Regions from separate parts of the Homo sapiens genome. Here region 2 is linked to region 1. Evidence: promoter capture Hi-C in human tissues and cell types (Jung and others, 2019). All regions are on one chromosome and are shown on one strand. The core of a region is centred on a gene start or on the middle of the fragment in contact, and the rest is flanking DNA. Distances in the headings are between cores, read along the strand shown.

The links. The method cuts DNA at HindIII sites, captures the fragments that hold promoters and counts their contacts. A contact is called where the count stands out against the background at its distance.
Region 2: a fragment that was not itself captured here is called in contact with the fragment with the promoter of DBF4B in region 1 in 1 of the 25 tissues and cell types used here (spleen).

Annotation. Positions count from the first base shown.
Region 1 is chr17:44,707,269-44,710,170 of GRCh38, reverse strand. It overlaps DBF4B (DBF4B-CDC7 kinase regulatory subunit), which reads right to left and starts at 1,506. Exons shown (of 14, transcript NM_145663.3): 1 at 1,332-1,506; 2 at 805-867. The coding sequence starts at 1,350. RefSeq lists enhancers at 672-1,185, 1,186-1,700. The HindIII fragment of the contact is 13,873 bases long and covers 1-2,902 here.
Region 2 is chr17:45,765,895-45,768,796 of GRCh38, reverse strand. All of the region lies in intron 3 of LINC02210-CRHR1 (LINC02210-CRHR1 readthrough), which reads right to left. Among named protein-coding and RNA genes, the nearest start is that of CRHR1, 17 kb to the left of the region's middle. The HindIII fragment of the contact is 6,380 bases long and covers 1-2,902 here.

The DNA.
Region 1 (2,902 bases), core at 257-2,756:
GACGGAGTCTCGCTCGGTCGCCCAGGTTGGAGTGCAGTGGCGCAATCTCGGCTCGCTGCAACCTCCGCCTCCTGGGTTCAATCAATTTTCCTGCCTCAGCCTCCTGAGTAGCTGGGACTACAGGCACGCCTCACCACGCCCGCCTAATTTTTTGTATTTTTAGTAGAGATGGGGTTTCACTGTGTTAGCCAGGATGGTCTCAATCTCCTGACCTCGTGATCCGCCCGCCTTGGCCTCCCAAAGTGCTGGGATTACAGGCGTGAGCAGCCGCGCCCGGCCAACTAGATGATATTAACTAAAGGGGCAGTACGGAGGGAAGTGCCATGTGCTAAAATACTTACCTAATTAGGTAGCAGTGTTTAACTTAAGGATTTTATTGTAAACAACTATGAATGTATTAATTTATATATTTAATAAGTCACTCTATCCTGACTCCACATCTGTCTGTTAATCTTGTTCATAATATGACTCTTACTTGACCTTTATCATGAATCCCAAAACGGTCTATGATGCTGCGTCCATACACACACACACATAAAACCACTAAGTGGGCCTGGTGAAGTGGCTCACACCTGTAATCCCAGCATTTTGGGAGGCCTAGGCAGGAGAACTGCTTGAGGCCAGGAGTTTGAGACCAGCTTGGCCAACACAGCAAGACCCCATCCCAATAAATAAAATGAATAAATAAGTACATAAAAACACTGAGTGATCGAAAACTCCAACAGGGGGAACATTTTTCGGTCTTCTCCAAGAGACCCTGGGGCAATTTTCACCTCACGTCCCTAGTTCTGTCCTGTTACCCACCTAGGTCCGGGGCCCGGAGCCTACTCTCAGCCATGGAACTCTCCAGCTCGAGGCAATCGTCTCCTGAGAAAGGACATAACAGCAACTCAACCATCTTCACCAACCCTTGGAACTTCCATGCCTCCCGCCCACTACTGTCTCCCAAAACGCGCACAGAAACGCGACTCCTGGGAACAGCAAGACTCAACTCCATTCCGACCTACATCCCGCGACTCCCGCCAGGCTCTTGCCCCTCATGCCCTCCGCCTCCTTTCAGACTCCGTTCAGTCAACGGCCGTGACCTCTTGGCCACCTCCTGTCCATCTCAATCTCCATACATCCCTCCAGGCTGTTGTCCCCTACGTTCCTCTGCCACCTTCATTCCTCGGTCCCCTCAACTCCTGTGGCTCCTTCCCGGCCCCTATACCCTCCTCAGCTTCGGCACCTACCCGCTGGTCACTTCCTAAGCCCCCTCCACGACTCCGCACCTCGCCTCAGCTATTAACGACCCCTTCCGCCTTTCTTTCTCCCCTTCCCGGCATCCGTACCCTTTCCCGGTTCGCTCATCAAATGCCGGCTCCTTCTCGGCCTCCGTACTCCTTCCTCAGAGGCCTCCGTATTACATTCGCGAGCTCCATGAGCTCTTCCCGATTCCACAGTCCTGGTTATCTCAGGGCAGCTACAGCATCAATCTCTTGGCGTTTTCGGCCGCGGCTTCAGTTTAAATTTCCTGCCGGCTCCACCCCTAAAAGAACGCCGTAGCTGCGAGATCCGCCCTACGGTGTCCTTGGAAGGACAATATTAGTTTCGCGATTCCTCTTTCCGTTCCCCCACCGCCTACGTCTTCTCAAACCGTCTCTTCATTTCTTGGCTCTTCACTGGCTAGACGGCTTTGCCCCTTAATGGCCCTCAAGTTGAGGACTAGTGGTCGCTTTTTAGTGATTCTTCACACTGAGCTGCATTGAAATTCCTAGAAGTTTGAATACTAAATAACAAAATAAGCCTAACACTTGCAGAGCATTTGCAGTTTACATAAAGATTTCACTTACACATCATTTCATCTTCACATTTTTGTCCCCCTCCCGTTCTTCAATTATTACCTGCCCAACAAAACTTCTCAAAAGACGTATCTTTATCCCTCACTTCCCATCTTTTCTTCAACCCATCTAATTAGACTGCTAATTAGAGATCAAATTTGATCTAATAAGAGATCATTCAGTGGAGAGCTGGGGACCTCCCCACAAAAACTGTACTTATCCAGGTCAACTGTGATTTCCACAGTCTGAAATACTATCCTTATCATATCCAACTTATAGATGGACTATTCCTTCTTTGAAATACTTTCTTCTTTTTGCTTCCATGACTCAGCACTCTACCGTTTTTTTCCCTATCTCAATGGTTCCTCCTCAGTCCCCTTTGCTGGATCCAAAGCCACTGTTCACCTATATATTTTGGAGTATGCCAACGCTTTAGCCCTTATCCCTCTCCCTTATCTCCCTAGGAGATCTCATCCAGCTCCACAGCTTTACAATTCAGCTCTGCCACACCTTCAGATTTTCTGTAGCTCTGACCTGTCTGATCTCCAGACTCACATATTCAAGTGCCTACTGGCTATTTCAATTTGGATGTCTAATAGGCACCTCAGGCTGAACACATTCAAAACAGAACATTTGTTTCGCTGCCCCTGTCAAAAAACCACCTGTTCTCCCCCCAGGTCTTCCCCTCTCAGTAAAATGTTACTGTTTACTCAAATGTCACAATCATTCACCCAGTTGCTCAAACCAAAAACCTAGAAGTTGTCTTTCAGTACTTTCCCTTGTGCCCATCCCCACTCCAAGAAAAAAATCCTACTAACTCTGCCTCCAAAGTACATCTGGAATCAGACCACCACCACCCTAGTTCAAGCTGCTATCATTTCTTGCCTAAAGTACTGCGGTCAATTCTTCACTTCTACTCCCGAGTAGCTTCCTATCTCTCCCCAGTATAATCCATTCTCCATTCAGCAACCAGAGTGATAGTTTTTATATTTATTTATTTTTTTATTGAGAGGGAGTCTCGCTCTGTCGCCCAGGCTGGAGTGCAGTGGCGCAATCTTGGCTCACTGCAACCTTTGCCTCCC
Region 2 (2,902 bases), core at 287-2,786, 1.1 Mb before region 1:
CTCAGGCCATTAGATTCCCTAATGCTGCACCTTCGGGCCCCTTTGTGCTGCTGCTGGACGGGTGGGGATGCGAGAGGGTGCTGAAGAGGTGGTATTGGGAGGCCTCAGGAGGTGGCTGCCTACTCAAAAAGCCTTACTTGCTTTAAAACAGCTCAGGCCGGCTCCCGTCCCCCACAGAAGACCCCCACTCCCTACCCTGCGGGCAATTCCTTGACAGTCACATTAGTGAAGGCTGGGTTAACCCTTGATGCTCTGCCCTCCAGCACCAGGGCAGGACCTGGACACCAGGGTCATTCCCTCCCTGGCACCTATGGAGACTGGATGCTGAGGAGGGAAAGGTGAAGCCACAGCCAACTATTTTTAGTTCAAGAATTGGTTGCCAGGAACACTGAGCCGACTCCCTGCTGTATATTAGGGATGCGACAGCAGCGGTGTTGTTTGCAGGGTCTAATTGTGGGGATTTATTGTAACATGCAACTTGTCAGCCACTGCTCTGCCTAGGGCCCAGTCTCCTTGTCATCGGAATCTGAGCTATTTCCCAACTCCCTGGGTGCAGGGGAAGGAAATGGGGCAGAGAAGGAGCAGGAGTGTGCCCAGGGACCCTGGACAGCTCACAGCTGACCTTGCACCAAGAGTCGCTCTGCCCAGGAGGGGGCAGAGAGGAGAAAAGTGATGAGACTGGATTGGAAGCAAAGAGAGAGGGCCTGGGGCTGCCCATTGTTGGGCCCACAGGACTCAACCTTGACTTTCCTTGGGGCTTCAGATCTGGAAGAGGCTCAGTGGGAACAAGCTGAGAGCTTTTTCTCTTGTGCATGACAGTAGCATAGGAGGGCACCGGCCTGGGTAACAGCGGAGAGTTTTCAGTTAGATGGAAGGAGGACCTCCTTGACTTGAGGGTGGTCCTCCTTCCACCCTCAAGTCAAGGGTGGCAAGGAGGGGACAGTGTCTGGTCTCAGCAGTGGCAGTGGTCATCCTTCTGCCAAGGGAGGGGGAGAGATATGCAGACACCTAGCAAAGCCTACTATGTGCTGGGCACACTGTGCAGCACCCCGATGCAACCTTATTTAATCCTTTGCAAAGGGGGCCTCTGTCTCCATTGCGTAGATGAGGAAACTGAGGCTCGGGTAGATATTCACCTAAGGTCTCATAGCAGTAAGGAGGCTACAGCTGGGATTTTTACCCGAAAGTGTCCAACTTCAGAGCTCTGCTCACCAACCATTATTGACTAGGACCCCAGGAACTGGAAGGAGGGGTCATCTTTCCCCTTGTTCCTGCATGCCTGGAATTCTGGGACAAAAAGACATTCAGCCAGCCAGCCAACAAACGCGCCAGGTACTGCGCCAGGCCCCTGGAATATAGGTACCCACCCAGGAAGAGCTGATGTGAAAAGGTCATTTCTTCCAGCCTCCTGCCTCATCTCCTCCTCTCCAAAAACCGTGGTCTGCATTTCAAATCACTCGAGAAAGGAAGGGCTGCAACTGTCCTTCTTCCCTTAAATAGTCAGGACTATTTAAGAAGCTTCTGATGTCTCAGGTAGGGGATAGGGGAAGGACGGCTTGGACTCTCAGCATCTTGGGGGAAGGCTGGACTCAGGCCTACTTTAATTATTTAGAAACCCTGGAGTAATGATGCAGAACCACCTTATGGGAGTGGTAAATGAGAAAGAGAAGGTTGAAAGCTGCCAGCCATGGGTTCAACTTTCCCGAGACAAGCTAAAATTGGACTGATCATTATAGCAGGCACCCAGGTATATGATTATTCTTCATAATTTTTTTTAGTTGCATAGACTACATTTTAAATAGATAATGCAAACTTGCACATGATGCAAAAATCAAAAGGTGCATAGGAAATATCCTGAAAATCTCCCTCCCTTCCCCACTCCCAGCCACCTAATTCCTCTCTCCACAGGCTCCAAGGTTATCAGTTTCTTGGTAGATTTGCAGAGATCGTCGATCCAATAAGTAAGCAATTACGGCTATATATTCTTTTTGTTTTATACAAACGTGCTCTTCTATACCTTGCTTTTTTTCCCACTTAGCAATTTATCTTGGAGATTGTTCCAAATCAGTCCATAAAGAGTAGCCCCCTCCATTCCTTTTTAATGATTGCATAATATTCTGCCAGTTGAATGAACCCTGATCTGCCGAACTCATCCCCAGCGATGGGCATTTAGGTGTTTTCAATCTTTGGCTCTTAAAAGTAGTGCTGCCATAAATAACCTCATTCATAGATCATATGGCATATGAAAGGTTATATTTATGGCATAAATTCCCAGAAGTGGAGCTGCTGGCCCGTGAACACGTACATTTATAATTTTGATACTTATTGCTGAATCTTTCTCCAAATAGATTGCACCAATTTATACTGTCTTGAGTTTCCCCAGAAGCAGGACCTGTGAAAAAGATTCAAGGGCAGGTTGTTTATTTGGGAGGTAATCCCAGGAGGTCCCAGTAGGGAGGTGGGGAAGGCGGGCAGGGGAGGGAGGAAAGCCTGATGACTGGACCTTAATCCCATTGAGGAGCTCAGGGAGGCATGTGGGACCCCCAGCTCAGAGTCATCCCAGTGGAGGGCACGAGGGTAGGGCACTGGTGACATCTGCCATCCCCTCCTCTAGAAACATAGGGATCCCTGTTGCCCCACACCTTCACATTGGGAAAATCTGATCATCCTTCCCCCCACACCCCTCCCTGGGCCCCATCTCACCCCAGTGCATGGACAGCCTGTGAAGGGGGCTGCCCACCCCACAGCCCCGCCCCAGGCTGGCACCGATCACTCTGCCCCTGCAGGGTCCCTCCTAGCTGCTAAGCCCTGGGGAAGGTAGAGAGGCACATCTAGGGTCACAAGACCCTAAACGCCCTAAAAGGAAACTACCTGTGGCACAACCTTTGTGCCCGTCACCACC